Linked DNA regions of Homo sapiens: all the other regions are linked to region 4. The links are contacts of gene promoters, found by promoter capture Hi-C in blood cells and fetal thymus (Javierre and others, 2016). All regions are on one chromosome and are shown on one strand. Each heading gives the region's core, a stretch centred on a gene start or on the middle of the fragment in contact. The rest is flanking DNA. Distances are from core to core; before and after follow the strand shown. Region 1 holds the start of LOC124909361 (a long non-coding RNA gene). Region 2 has its middle 40 kb from the start of CNOT10. Region 3 overlaps CNOT10 (CCR4-NOT transcription complex subunit 10). Region 4 holds the start of CMTM6 (CKLF like MARVEL transmembrane domain containing 6). Region 5 overlaps CNOT10 (CCR4-NOT transcription complex subunit 10).

Region 1 (2,700 bases), core at 12-2,511, 130 kb before region 4:
CAATAAAGTAGTTTTAGATGGCAAAGCCTGGTATCAAGAAAAGGTAGTGAGTGGGTGATTCAATGGAGGTGAAATGATAACTTTTGCTAATTAGGATGTGCCCTAAACCCCACTTCTATTATGCTTTGTTTTCTCCAGTTCTTTGCCTTCCTGGTCACCATCTGCTACGCTGGAAATACATATTTCAGTTTTATAGCATGGAGATCCAGGACCATACAGTGATTTACCATTTTGATAATTAAAAGGAAAAAAAAAGGAAGACTCTCACTGTAAAAACAGCTGTAGGTATAATGTATATTCCCAGAGAATTGTATTTAACTAATTAATGTTTTTTATATTCTTAAATTTGCTCACAAATTGTGGTTTGTTACAATTAAACTGGATACTTATTTGCAAAGTGTTGTAGCTTATAATGAACTCTTAAGTATCTTATTAATGTATTAATGTCTTCATAGATCATATTTTCTTAGACAATGTTTAAATAGATAAATTGCTAATATTGAGAATGTGTCAAGTTTGTAAACCTAACTTTTAAGATGCCAGATTCTTTTTTGATTAAATGTTGCAAAATCCCAAGTAATGTTGTGTTTGATTGGAGAAAGGAGACCTACCTGTTGAAGCCAGAGGCTAGGCTGTCAAGGCTGGTGGGAGGCTGGGAAGTCTCCCTCTTCACAGGGCTGCATCGTATGATATTGTCAGGTGACACTTATCCATAGTCTTAGGGCAAAGAGGCGGGAGATTCATCTCCCCAATTCTGGGGATCATAGATCAGTGTTCATGATTTTCATATGCTAACAGGTTGCCCCAGAAAGCATCTATTCAGACCTGGCCTTGGACATCAGTGATAAGCTCATGGGAAGTTATGCTACTAAGTGCAGTGACTGACGTGCTTGTGATATTTTTTCTAATATGCATTATAAAAAAATATATAACTATTAAAAGGATAAATATCTGAATATATTGAATATATCTTAAAATTATCTTGCTGGCTGGGCGCCGTGGCTCATGCCTTGTAATCCCAGCACTTTGGGAGGCCGAGGCAGGTGGATCACGAGGTCAGGAGATCGAGACCAGCCTGGCCAACATGGTGAAACCCCGTCTCTACTACAAATACAAAAATTAGCTGGGCGTGGTGGCGGGTGCCTGTAATCCCAGCTACTTGGGAGGCTGAGGCAGGAGAATCACTTGAACCCAGGAGGCAGAGGTTGCAGTGAGCCAAGATCACACCACTGCACTCCAGCCTGCTGACAGAGCAAGACTGTGTCTCAAAAAAAAAAAAAAAAATTGCTGACCACAGTAACATGTGTGCTATCTTTTGTGAAAACTACTGGGCCAGGCCAGGCACAGTGGCTCATGCCTATAATCCCAGCACTTTGGGAGCCTGACTGAGGTGGGCAGATCACTTGAGGCCAGGAGTTCGAGATCAGCTTGGACAAGATGGCAAAACTCCATCTGTACCAAAAATACAAAAAAATAAGCCAGGCATGGTGGTGCACCCCTGTGGTCCCAGCTAATTGGAAGGCTGAGATAGGAGGATCCCTTGGACCTGGGAGGAGGAGGCTGCAGCTAGCCGTGATCATGCCACTGCACTCCAGCTTGAGCAACAGAGTGGGGCCCTGTCTCAAAAAAAAAAAAAAAACTAATAATAAGACACTGCTGGACCAAAAGGTTTCAATATTCCAAATCTCCAGTGCAAAAATATTATAACATCATTATTAGATATTATCAGTTAAGGAGAAGAACTCACATCAGCAAGACAGTATGAACTTAGAGGAAGTGTTTTTAGATAGGACGATTCTTGCTAGTACAGCAGTGTATCTTGGATGATTTTTCAATATGAGCTTTTGAAAAACAAAAAACCACAGAAACGTTAGTGTAGTTGATGAGCGTGAACAAAGCTGAAGCTGTGCGCTCTGTTGATATGACTCCCATGGCCTCTGCCTCTTGATCTCTCACCTGTTTAGCAGTGCTGTTTTTTTCTGTTTGTGCTGGTTCTCTTTTTCTAATTCCATATCCAAGCTCTGATTACCCCTACATAGGAGAGTTGAGATTTCTTCAGTGTCTAGTCATACCCACCCCAGACCTTTGAAAGTACCAATGAAGAATGTTCTGGGGTTGTGGACTAGGCCCGCCCAAAGAGGTAGTGGGGAAGGAAGCTCCAAAAATGAGAGGTGAGTGTAGGGTATGGATGTGTGAGCAGGTGGTGTCGGGGGGCACACAAGGCCACTCTGTGCCCAAAATGTAGCAAGCCATGGAAGGCTGAACTTCCATAACACAGACCTGTAGGCAACTGGTGATGTGATCTTTGGGGAGCTGATTCCCAGTCATCACTGATTTTGCAGAAAAGCTGAAATAACTAGTCACAGTTGGCATGCTCTGCCCTTCCGTCCAGCTCTCCCTCTCACACTCACCAAAGCATGTGCACCTTCCACATACCCTGTGGGTTTTTCAAGTACTTTATGTTGCAAACAACACTCCATAAAAGTCAGAAAAAACAGTAACCTACAGAGGCCTGCTTCTGGAAACAGAAAGAAGCCTGCTTTTATGCTCCACGCAAGCATGTGTGTGTCATTTCTATAATCACGGCCACATTTATAGAACGTAACTTCTGGGGTGAAAAGTGCCGTAAACCACACTCTGAAATGTCCTTCAAGTAGACTGTAATTTTAGTTCTTTCTTGAACTGGTAGCACCAAAGGCA
Region 2 (2,700 bases), core at 184-2,683, 140 kb after region 4:
TCAATTCCACTGGGGACTCTAAGGAGCTGTGTAGGATAAGCCTCAGTTTTGTGCCTGAAAACAGAAGAGGGATTATTTATCTATCAGCTCCTATCTCCCCTTGGTCAACAGTTACACCATAAGGTGTTAACTCTCGAACTTCCAGGTTCGCCAATGCAACCGCATGGCTGAACAGATTCTTGCAGCCATCCCATTCAGCAGCATGGCTTTCGGAAGCCCCAGGGGCAGAAAGCAAGAGATACACAGGGCAGCTGAGGCAAGATATTGTTAGTTTACACTTGTTCACAGCCAGTTTCTGCAGCAACTACTGGAAGAGATGGTCAAAAGGCGGGAACACAATGTGGAGGAGCTGAGCAGCAAGTGCCTCAGGTCGCCAAATTTAACAAATTAGGATGAGCTTGTTTTCATCTATGAGAATCCACTCAGAGCTGTTGATTTTTAAAACTTTTACTTACCATTTTCTTCTATTTTTTAGCACCATGGGCTCCTCTGCTCCTGCCCCAGTGTATACAGGTCTTCACGTAGAGGGCAGCAATGTGTTCTGTCTGCACAGAGGCTCTAGCTTGGACGAGCTCTATAAAGAGGTCAGTGACTTCCCAGGATGCCAACACTCTGCTTCCGTAAGTCAAGACATAAGTGCCTAATGACCAGCTAGGAGGATCTGACTCTTCTTAGGTTCTACTCCTGTTTTCTAGATGTTTTATTATTATTATTATACTTCAAGTTCTAGGGTACATGTGCACAACGTGCAGGTTTGTTACATATGTATACATGTGTCATGTTGGTGTGCTGCACCCATATATTTCTAGATGTTAAAAGGCAGCCTATTTATTAAAAGTATAAACTTGCCTGAGTTTGAATTGGCTCCACCTCTTACCGTGTCCTCTCTGTGCCTGAGATTTCTTATCTGTAAAACAGAAATTTAATATAACCTATGTTATATTAAATTAAATTAAATTATATTAATATAATATAATATTAAATTATATTATATTAATATAATATAATATTAAATTATATTATATTAATATAATATTAAGTTAAATTATATTATATTTAATATAATATAATATTAAATTATATTAAATATAATATAACCTATATTATATTAAATTATATTATAACATAGGTTATATATAACCTATGTTATATTAAATTTAAATATAATTAAATTATATTAAATTAAATGTCATAGGCTTATGGTTAAGATTCAATGAGTTAAGCTGGACAGGGTGGCTTACACCTGTAATCCTAGTGACTCTGGAGGCTGAGGCAGGAGGATTGCTTGAGCCCAGGAGTTAGAGGCTGCAGTGAACTATGATCATGCCACTGCATTCCGGATGGGGAGACACCTGTCTGCTAGAAAAAAAAAATTCAATGAATTAATGTATGTTAAGTATTTAGAACAGTGCCTGGCACTGAGTAAGTAAGCCCTTGGTAAAAATCCCGTTCCGTGTTGTCCACATATGTGATCAACTCCAGCTGTCCTCTTTGGGTAGGAAGAAAAACTGGTATGCATCTAGTTATTGAGGGGTTAACAATGCCAGAACCCATTGCCTTTGTTAAATTCCCCACAGTGCAACACATAGAAAATACTATTGATGGGGCCTAGGACATGCCACCCTAAAATATGATGGTAGAAGACCAGAATATGCTATCCCGGATGTGCCCCTTTGGCATAAGGATTATTTTTGAGAAACTGCAGACACAGGAGAAGCTCAGAAAAGTTACCCTTTTGTAAGACAAACTGACATTTATGAAGGAAATCTCCATTTTTAAAGGTGTCTTTCTCTCTGCACCAGAAAGAGAAGGATAACTAAATCACTAGAGACTCTTATCGATGGAGAAATAATTGCCTTAAAATGTCCTAACAGGCAGGATGTGGTGGCTCACGTCTGTTATCCCAGCACTTTGGGAGGCTGAGATGGGCAAATGGCTTGAGCCCAGGAATTTGCTACCTGCCTGGGCAACATGGCAAAACCCCATTTCTGCAAAAATTAGCTGGGCATGGTGGTGCATGCTTGTAGTCCCAGATAGTTGGATGGCTGAGGCGGGAGGATCACCTGAGCCTAGGAGGTAAAGGCTGCAGTGAGCTGAAATAGAGCCACTTCACTCCAGCATGGGCAACAGAGTGAGAGCCTGTCTTAAAAAGAAAAGAAAAAGTCATAACAAAACTTGCCCTTATTATCTAGAACTAGAAATACCATTTGACCCAGCAATCCCATTACTGGGTATATACCCAAAGGATTATAAATCATGCTGCTATAAAGACACATGCACACGTATGTTTATTGCAACACTATTCACAATAGCAAAGACTTGGAACCAAGGCAAATGTCCAACAATGATAGACTGGATTAAGAAAATGTGGCACATATACACCATGGAATATATGCAGCCATAAAAAATGATGAGTTCATGTCCTTTGTAGGGACATGGATGAAGCTGGAAACCATCATTCTCAGCAAACTATCGCAAGGACAAAAGCCAAACACCGCATGTTCTCACTCATAGGTGGGAATTGAACAATGAGAACACATGGACACAGGAAGGGGAACATCACACTCTGGGGCCTGTTGTGGGATGGGGGGAGGGGAGGGGGATAGCATTAGGAGATATACCTAATGTAAATGACGAGTTAATGGGTGCAGCACACTAACATGGCACATGTATACATATGTAACAAACCTGCATGTTGTG
Region 3 (2,700 bases), core at 73-2,572, 210 kb after region 4:
TGACCTTTGCACACCAGCTGTGTTAATTTCAGTTTTTTAAATGAATTCCACTCTTTAAAGGCTTTTGAAATTTTCTCTTCTAGACCTTATTTTTCCTTTTATCTTCTTTTTTGAAAGGAAAGATAGTTTTATGTCACACCAGGTTAACTTTCCTCTCTTCATTGGGTTCTTTTTCTTTTGAAGGTCTTGTCTCTTGGCAGTCTCAATTTTCTGATATACTCCAGCCCATACCTTGCTGCTTTTGCTTCTGTAATCAGGTGTTTGTTTGTTTTTTTTTTTTTTCCATCTCCATGACCTAGAAAAGCAATGTATTTCATGGAGTCATAGACTTTTTTAGTTAGAAGGAACCTCACAAGATCCCCTGGTCCACCCTTCTGCCTTCAGGCAGGTAAAATATTCTCCTCATTTGACAGGTCAGCCAGCTGAGGTCTGAAAAGTTAAATGATGTACAGAGACCACACATACCTAGTTAGTGGCTGAATAGGTGCAGATTGAGTATCCCTTATCCAAAATGCTTGGGACAAGAAGTGTTTCAGATTTGGGATTTTTTTTAACTTTGGAATATTTGCATTATACTTACTGGTTCAGTATTCCTACCCTGAGGTCCAAAATGCTACCATGAGCATTTTATTTGAGCATCATTGGTGCTCAACAAGTTTTGGATTTTGAGGCTGGACACAGTGGCTCACACCTGTAATCCTATCCTTTGTGAGGCCAAAGTGGGTGGATCACTTGAGCTCAGGAGCTTGAGACCAGCCTGGGCAACATAGTGAAACCCTGTTTCTATGAAAAAATTAGCCAGGCATGGTGACACATGTTTGTGGTCCCAGCTACTCAGGAGGCTAAGGTGAAAGGATCTCTTGAGCCTAGTAGGCAGAGGTTGCAGTAAGCCAAGATTGCAACACTGCACTCCAGCCTGGGTAACACAGTGAGATACCATCTCAGAAACAAAAAAAGTTTTGGATTTTGGAGGATTACAAATTTCAGATTTCAACATTTCAGGTTAGGAATGCACAACCTCTATTGGAATTCAGGTTTCTTTCCGCCTAAAGTAATATTCCTCATTACATGTGCTAGTGTTTAGTAGATATTTTCCTAAGGAAGATTTAATCACTGGAATTTCTGAAATGAGAGGCCTTGCAGTGCCTAGTAAAATGACATTGTTGGCATTGCAAGTTGCTTTCATTCGTGGCTCTAGGTGATAGGCATTCATTTGAGTAAAGACTTATGCTTTGCTATTTAAAGCTTTGTATACTTTTTTGGAGGGTGGTCTGAAATGTGTGCTTTACTTTAGGTTGTGACTATTCTTTTCTGTGTTTTTTTTCTCCCAGAAGAAAAATTTGCCCAAGCAGTGTGTTTTTTGCTTGTAGACCTGTATATATTAACCTACCAAGCTGAGAAAGCTTTGCATCTTCTTGCTGTCCTAGAAAAAATGATTTCACAGGGTAACAATAACAAAAATGGAAAGAATGAGGTGAGTCTTTAGAGGTGATCAGACTAAAATCTAAAATGTGATTAATTCTCTCTACTTGTTGGTTTACTGGATTAAAAAGAAAGCAATTAAAATATGATTAATGTTTGTGGTTATGAACTATTAACAGCTTAAAGATACAATTTTCATATTATAAGCTTTACCATTTTAAAGTGTAGAGTTTAGTGGTTTTGAGTGTACTCACATTTGTACAACCATTACTACTATCTAATTTCAAAATATTTTTATCACCCCAAAAAGAAACCCTGTACCATTTGCAGTCACTCCCCATTTCCCCCTTTCCTCAGCCCCAAGCAGCCGTTAATCTAATTACTGTCTCTGAATTTACTGTCTGGACATTACATATGAATGGAATCATAATATGCGGCTATTTGTCACTGGCTTTTTTTACTTAGTGTAATGCTTTCAAGCTTCATCCATATTTTAGCATATACTTATTTTTGTTTCATGTACTTCATGCCTTTTGTGGCTGAATAATATTCCATTCATTATATGAATATGCCACATTTTAAAAAATTCTTTATCAGTTGGTGGACATTTGGGTTCTTTTCTACTTTTTGGTTATTATATATAGTGCTTCTGTGACCATTCATGTACAAATTTTTGTGTGGATATATGTTTTCAGTTACATTGGATATAATATTTAGGAATAGAATCACTGGGTTATATGGTATCTTAACTCTATATTTAACCCTATACAAGACTGTTTTACAAAGTGGCTGCACTATTTTAAATTCCCACCGGCCACTTGTGAGGTTGTAATTTCTCCACATTGTTACCAACACTTGTTATTGTCTATCTTTAAAAAAAAATTAGCTATCTTAGGGGGTGTGAAGTGGTATCTTGTTACAGTTTTGATTTTTATTTTCCTAATGACTAAGGATGTACATTGAGCATCTTTTCATATATGAGCTATTATTTTTATAGAATTGAAAGATTGGAATTAAGACAATAGAATCCATAACCTGGATAAACACTATTGCTTTCATTAGGGAAAATTTCATCATTAAAGTTCTTCAAAAAAAAAAAAAAAATACATGGCTGGGCGTGGTAGCTCACACCTGTAATCCCAGCACTTTGAGAGTCCAAGGCGGGTGGATCACCTGAGGTCAGGAGTTAGAGACCAGCCTGGCCAACATGGTGAAACCGTGTCTTTACTAAAAATACAAAAAATAGCTGGGCATGGTGGCACACAACTGTAATTCCAA
Region 4 (2,700 bases), core at 10-2,509:
TCAATAAAAGTAGGTCACTAGAGTTCTAAGAATTTAACTTCGGGTCATTTGAGTTGTAAGAATTTAAGTTCTTTCCAAGGAAACCAATGAGCTAATTTTTACTTAGAATGGTTAAAAAACAAAACAAAGTAAGACAAAACTCATAAACATCATAAGCATTCGGATTTTTCCTAAACTGGTTCTATTGCAGAAATAGAACCTAAACTGTTTCTATTTTTCCTAAACTGGTTCAACCATCAGTGGTTGGAACAGTACATAGGAGCCAACACGACTGTAAAGTGAATAATTTAAATCTCAAAGATGCTTTGATGTTTTCACGAACAGGTTTATGGTACTTCAACTGCTTAAAATAAACTCAATAAAATGGAAAGATGCATACCATGTCCTAGTTCAGCTATCCGCACATACTTACAAAAAGCTGTCCTTTTGACTTTCCACTTAGAACCCATATTGCTCAATTTTGAAATAATTCTTTTCCAGTCAATATAAAACTTTTAGAAGACAATTTACCGGACACACATACACACACATCTCAATGCCACGCGTGGTATCGCAGGACTTTGTCCAGCAAGTTAAACTGCCCCCATGGGCTCGCAGCAGGAAAACCGCAAGAGCCAGAGAAAGATAAACAGCGCTTCACAGTCTAAATACAGGCACTGTGGGCGATAATGCAGGGTAGCAGCAGAGAGAAGAGAGGAAAGTCGCCATAGAGGATGAGTGAAAGATGTTGAAGTGGCTGACTTGGGTCTCCGACGCATTTCCTGAGCCCGCCTAACAGGCTGGGTGGCCCCAGTTCGTGGGATCCCGATGGGGAGAGCCTTGGGACTGAGGGGCCGCCCGGCGGAAGGGCGGAGGGTAACGCCCCCTTCCCCAGGCTGAGAGGGAAGGAACTAGAGGTGTGGAAACCTCCTTTTACTGAACAACCAAGCTGAAACGAAGGAGCTCGGCGGCCTCCCAAGCCCGGGCCAGACCCCGCTCCCCAGCCCGGGCTCGCCCTCCCTGACCGCGGACTCACCAGCTGCAAGCCCTTGAGAACGCGCCGGAGCAATGGGAGCCGGCCCATGAAAAAGTAGGCAGCGAGGCCGCTCCGGGGGCCTCTGGCGGGGCCCGGGTCCTCCTCCGTAGTGGGGCTGTACACCGCTCCGTTCTCCATCGCCTCGGGCCGGGGAGCGCGGCGGCCGCAGCAACCGCGCCGTTGACTTCTCGGACTCCAGAAGTCCCCGGTAGCCGGGAGGCGGCCGTCACTTCCTGGGCCTTCTCCCCGGCTTCCGCCTGACTCCGCCCCTTCCCGCCCCCGCCCTTGGCCCGCCCCGCCCCCTCTCAGCAAATTTGCTTGTTAGCTGTTGGGATTCTTCCGACTTTCATCCAAGAATTGAGTTCTTTCTGTGAGCCTTTGATGGATTTCTCACCTCCCTCCATCTTTCATCCTCCTGACATTCATTCACTTAGTATTTTTGCGTACTTTCGGTGTGCAGTGAACCCCGTTCTAGGTACTTGGGTGACAGCCAAGTACTACCCAAAATCACAGGATCCCTAGTAACAGAGACAGACAATAAACAAGAAAACAGATGGATAGCAATTTCAGATAGTGATAAGTGACGTGAAAATATGATACGAAAATAATGGATTCAGCATTTCTGGTGGCTTGATAAATTTATTAAAAAAAAAAAGAAGATGGAGGAGGAGGAGAAGAGGAAGGAGAAGGAAAAAAGGATGGAGAATTGGGTGCTCTACTTAAATGGCCACTACTAAACTGAGTGGTCAGGAAAGGCCTCTCTGAGGACCATGATCTTTGAATTGAATGAGACTCAAAGTGTGAGAAGCCAGGCTTGTAAAGTTCTGGGGAGAGCCTTTCACGAAAGTGCAAATGTCCCGAGGACCAAATGAGTTTGACTCAATCTGAAGCCCAAAGGCCTGTGTCGCTAGGAATAAGTACGGGAGGAAAGGAGATGTTGGAGATGTAGGCAAAGGCCAGATAATGTGGAGGCCTTGCAGACCAAGGGAAGAATTCGTATTTCATTTGAAGTACAATGAGTTGTCTGTAAGGACTTTCAGAATCGCTCCCTCCCGCGTCTCCCGAAATTCCATTTAGGCTCACTTTTCAAAATCATTTCCTTTTTCTCTTTCTTGGTCACCAACTGCTACAGTCACATATGTTAATTTTGTGTGAACTTGTCAAGGAATGTAATTATATTTTAGCAACTGAAGTTGATTGAGTTACAGGATGTTCACAACAATATAAAGTAGGTTCGACAGTATAAAGTCGGTTACATTCATTTTCAAATGAGAAAACTGAGGCCAAGAGGCTGAAATCATATCCAAGGTCAAACAGCCAGGAGCAGCTGGAATGCAGGCCTAAGCAGTCTGACTCGAAACCTTGCTGCTAAACGCTAACCCAGAAAACGTCAGCTTCTAACTCATCTCTCCATTGGAGTCTCAAAACCCATGGAAGAGAGAAGGGGTTTCTGCTGCCATCAGCTGCTACATCTTCTCCGTGGCCCCAAACCTCCCTTTCTTCTTCCAGTAACAAACAAAAGCTCCCATTCAAATGAATAGAGACAAGTAGATACTGCCCTGCAGGGGCCACCTACAACCAGCCAGAACTACCCTTCTGTCTCTGATTACATGCACTCTGAATGTCCTCCCAAGGCCAAGATGCCACCAATTCTGTCCAACAAGGAAGGCCACTGTATTTTCACC
Region 5 (2,700 bases), core at 130-2,629, 190 kb after region 4:
TGTTGATTTCCTTAGGTCTTTTAACATCCCTTTTTTCTTTGGAAAAGTTTTCTTTTCTTGATATATCAGTGGAGCTGTATTTTGATGAGTGTAGCTTGTAGTCTCCACCAATCAGATTTGAATGATTAACATTCTGTATTGGAATGTGTCTGTGCTTTCAGTTAACTGATGATTTTCAGTTTTGAAAACGTGGTGCATTTCTTTTCTGCTTAGTTCAAACCTAAAGGCAATTGTTTATTTAGAAATGAAGTCTATTGGTGTAAAGACTGTCAAGGTTTGTGGGTCAAAGAGCTCTGTACGCATAGAAGGTCAGCCATGTTCATTAGGCCAGAGTAGAAGGAAAGTCAAGCTTATGGGTGAACGGTCGTATACTCTTTCAATTGGCAACGGAGACTACTTTTGGGCAAATAAAGAAATGCTGTGGGATTATGTGCAGACTCTGTCTGGTAAGAAGTCAGTAGTTATAAATAATAAATGTTTTTAAAACATTAAAAAAACTGATTACAAAAATGAATACCCATTTCTGGCAGAAAACTCGAGAAATGTACAAATACACAAGGAAAATAAAAATAATCCTGTTGAAGAGAGTGTGTGTGTGTGTGTGTGTGTGTGTGTGTGTGTGTGTGTGTGTGTGTATTTGAAATGGGGTCTTGGCCGGGCGTGGTGACTCATGCTGGTAATCCCAGCACTTTGGGAGGCCGAGGCAGGCGGATCACTTGAGATCAGGAGTTCAAGACCAACCTGGCTGACATGGTAAAACCCTGCCTCTACTAAAAATACAAAAATTAGCTGAGCATGGTGGCGGGCACCTATAATCCCAGCTACTCAGGAGGCTGAGGCAGGAGAATCACTTGAACCTGGGAAGCAGAGGTTGCGGTGAGCTGGGATTGTGCCTCTGCACTCCAGCCTGGGCAACAGAGTGAGACTCCGTCTCAAAAAAAAAAAAGAAGAAGAAGAAGAAATGGGGTCTCACTGATTGCTCAGGCTGGTAGTCATATACTGGGCTCAAGCAATCTTCCCACCTAAGCCTCCTGAGTAGTGAAGTGTGTTTTTTTAAAAACAGAAAATTTTCATCCTGAAGTTAAAGAAGGTAGGTAAAATAATGGTTCGTTAACATGTAAAAGGTTATTTATTGAGCTCAGTTCTGTGAAATGTGTGTAGAAATGGGAATTTCAGAGGCTCTTGTCAGCCTTAGAGTCCAGCTTATCTATTTATTTATTTATTATTTATTTATTTTGAGATGAGGTCTCACTGTCACCCAAGCTGGAGTGCAGTGGCACAATCTCAGCTCACTGCAGCCTCCACTTCCTGGGTTCAAGTGATCCTCCCTCCTCAGCCTCCCAAGTAGCAGGACTACGGGCATGTGCCACCACACCTGGCTAAGTTTTGTGTTTTTGGTAGAGATGGGTTTTCACCATGTTGTCCTGAGCTCAAGATCCACCCTCCTCAGCCTCCCGAAGTGCTGGGATTACAGGCGTGAGCCAGTGTGTCCAGCCCAGCTTATATATTTATCTTAAATTGGCTTCTCTCCTTTTCTGGAGAATTTTAGGAGACTTACATTTTCTTTTTCTTTTCTTTTTTTTTTTTGAGATGGAGTCTCGCTCTGTCACCCAGACTGGAGTGCAGTGGCGTGATCTCGGCTCACTGCAGCCTCTGCCTTCCGGGTTCCAGTGATTCTCCTGCCACAGCCTCCCAAGTAGCTGAGATTGTAGGCATATGCCACCACGCCCAGCTAATTTTTGTATTTTTAGTAGAAACGGGTTTCACCATGTTGGCCAGGCTGGTCTGGAACTGCTGACCTCAGGTGATCTGCCCACCTTGGCCTCCCAAAGTGCTGAGATTATAGGCGTGAGCCACCATGTCCAGCCTGATACTTCCATTTTCTGGGGTTGCTAACAGCAGTGGCCACATGAACTACTCTACTTTTAGTGGAGAATAGAAGCTCAAAATTTTCAACACCTGGGTGAGTTGTTGGGTTTTCCCCTTTGCCCTGTATTTCTAAGGTGCTCTTACAGTTGGTCCCAAAAGTCCCATTAAAGAATGTCATCTAATCTAGGGCATATTTTACTTATTTATTTTATTCATATCTTTTATTATTATTATTTTTGAGACAGGGTTTCACTCTGTCACCCAGGCTGGAGTGCAGTGGCATGGTCACGGCTCACTGCAGCCTCAACCTCCCAGGCTTCAACGATTATCCCACCTCACCTCCCCAAGTAGCTGGGACTACAGGCACATGCCACTATGCCTGGCTAATTAAAACAATTTTTTAAAATAGAGACAGGGTCTTGTTTTGTTTCCCAGGCTGGTCTGGAACTCCTAGGCTCAAGCAGTCCTCCTTCCTTGGCCTGCCAAACTGCTGGGATTACAGGTGTGAGCCACTGCCCAGCCAAGGGGCATATTTTAGAAGAAGCTTTAGAGAAAACTCAATAGCAAACTAAGAATTTTTGGCATTTGGTTTAAATTATGCTTCTTTATGAGAGAAGACACATTTTTTAAAATGTTAGGTTTTATAAAATCTTTAATAATAAAAGAAACATGAAAGATATTTATATTCTTTGTTAAAGTTTTATGGTGACAATATGTGGATTGAGGATCCTGTTTCAATCTAAACTTATAACTTGCCTTCTGAGGTCCTAAAGTCCTGTGTCACATTTTTACACGTTTTAAAATAATTGGTCCTTACCTCTTTTGTGCACC

Evidence for each region. The method cuts DNA at HindIII sites, captures the fragments that hold promoters and counts their contacts. A CHiCAGO score of 5 or more calls a contact.
Region 1: a contact is called between a fragment that was not itself captured here and the fragment with the promoter of CMTM6 in region 4, in 3 of 17 cell types (total B cells, total CD8 T cells and naive CD4 T cells). The highest score is 5.7, in total B cells.
Region 2: a fragment that was not itself captured here is called in contact with the fragment with the promoter of CMTM6 in region 4 in 1 of 17 cell types (megakaryocytes); the score reaches 5.1 in megakaryocytes.
Region 3: a fragment that was not itself captured here is called in contact with the fragment with the promoter of CMTM6 in region 4 in 3 of 17 cell types (megakaryocytes, erythroblasts and M1 macrophages); the score reaches 7.6 in megakaryocytes.
Region 5: a contact is called between a fragment that was not itself captured here and the fragment with the promoter of CMTM6 in region 4, in 7 of 17 cell types (megakaryocytes, erythroblasts, monocytes and 4 more). The highest score is 7.7, in megakaryocytes.

The regions. Positions count from the first base shown.
Region 1 is chr3:32,369,746-32,372,445 of GRCh38, forward strand. It overlaps CMTM8 (CKLF like MARVEL transmembrane domain containing 8), which reads left to right. Exons shown (of 4, transcript NM_178868.5): 4 at 139-576. The coding sequence ends at 222. LOC124909361 (a long non-coding RNA gene) reads left to right here and starts at 1,613. Exons shown (of 2, transcript XR_007095859.1): 1 at 1,613-2,700. The HindIII fragment of the contact is 3,277 bases long and covers 1-2,700 here.
Region 2 is chr3:32,643,471-32,646,170 of GRCh38, forward strand. No RefSeq gene overlaps it. Among named protein-coding and RNA genes, the nearest start is that of CNOT10, 40 kb to the right of the region's middle. The HindIII fragment of the contact is 4,319 bases long and covers 1-2,700 here.
Region 3 is chr3:32,711,896-32,714,595 of GRCh38, forward strand. It overlaps CNOT10 (CCR4-NOT transcription complex subunit 10), which reads left to right. Exons shown (of 19, transcript NM_015442.3): 5 at 1,332-1,474. Among named protein-coding and RNA genes, the nearest start is that of CNOT10-AS1, 24 kb to the right of the region's middle. The HindIII fragment of the contact is 158 bases long and covers 1,244-1,401 here.
Region 4 is chr3:32,501,593-32,504,292 of GRCh38, forward strand. CMTM6 (CKLF like MARVEL transmembrane domain containing 6) reads right to left here and starts at 1,260. Exons shown (of 4, transcript NM_017801.3): 1 at 1,016-1,260. The coding sequence starts at 1,153. RefSeq lists silencers at 971-1,200, 1,271-1,360. The HindIII fragment of the contact is 6,143 bases long and covers 1-2,700 here.
Region 5 is chr3:32,695,382-32,698,081 of GRCh38, forward strand. All of the region lies in intron 1 of CNOT10 (CCR4-NOT transcription complex subunit 10), which reads left to right. Among named protein-coding and RNA genes, the nearest start is that of CNOT10, 12 kb to the left of the region's middle. The HindIII fragment of the contact is 2,064 bases long and covers 348-2,411 here.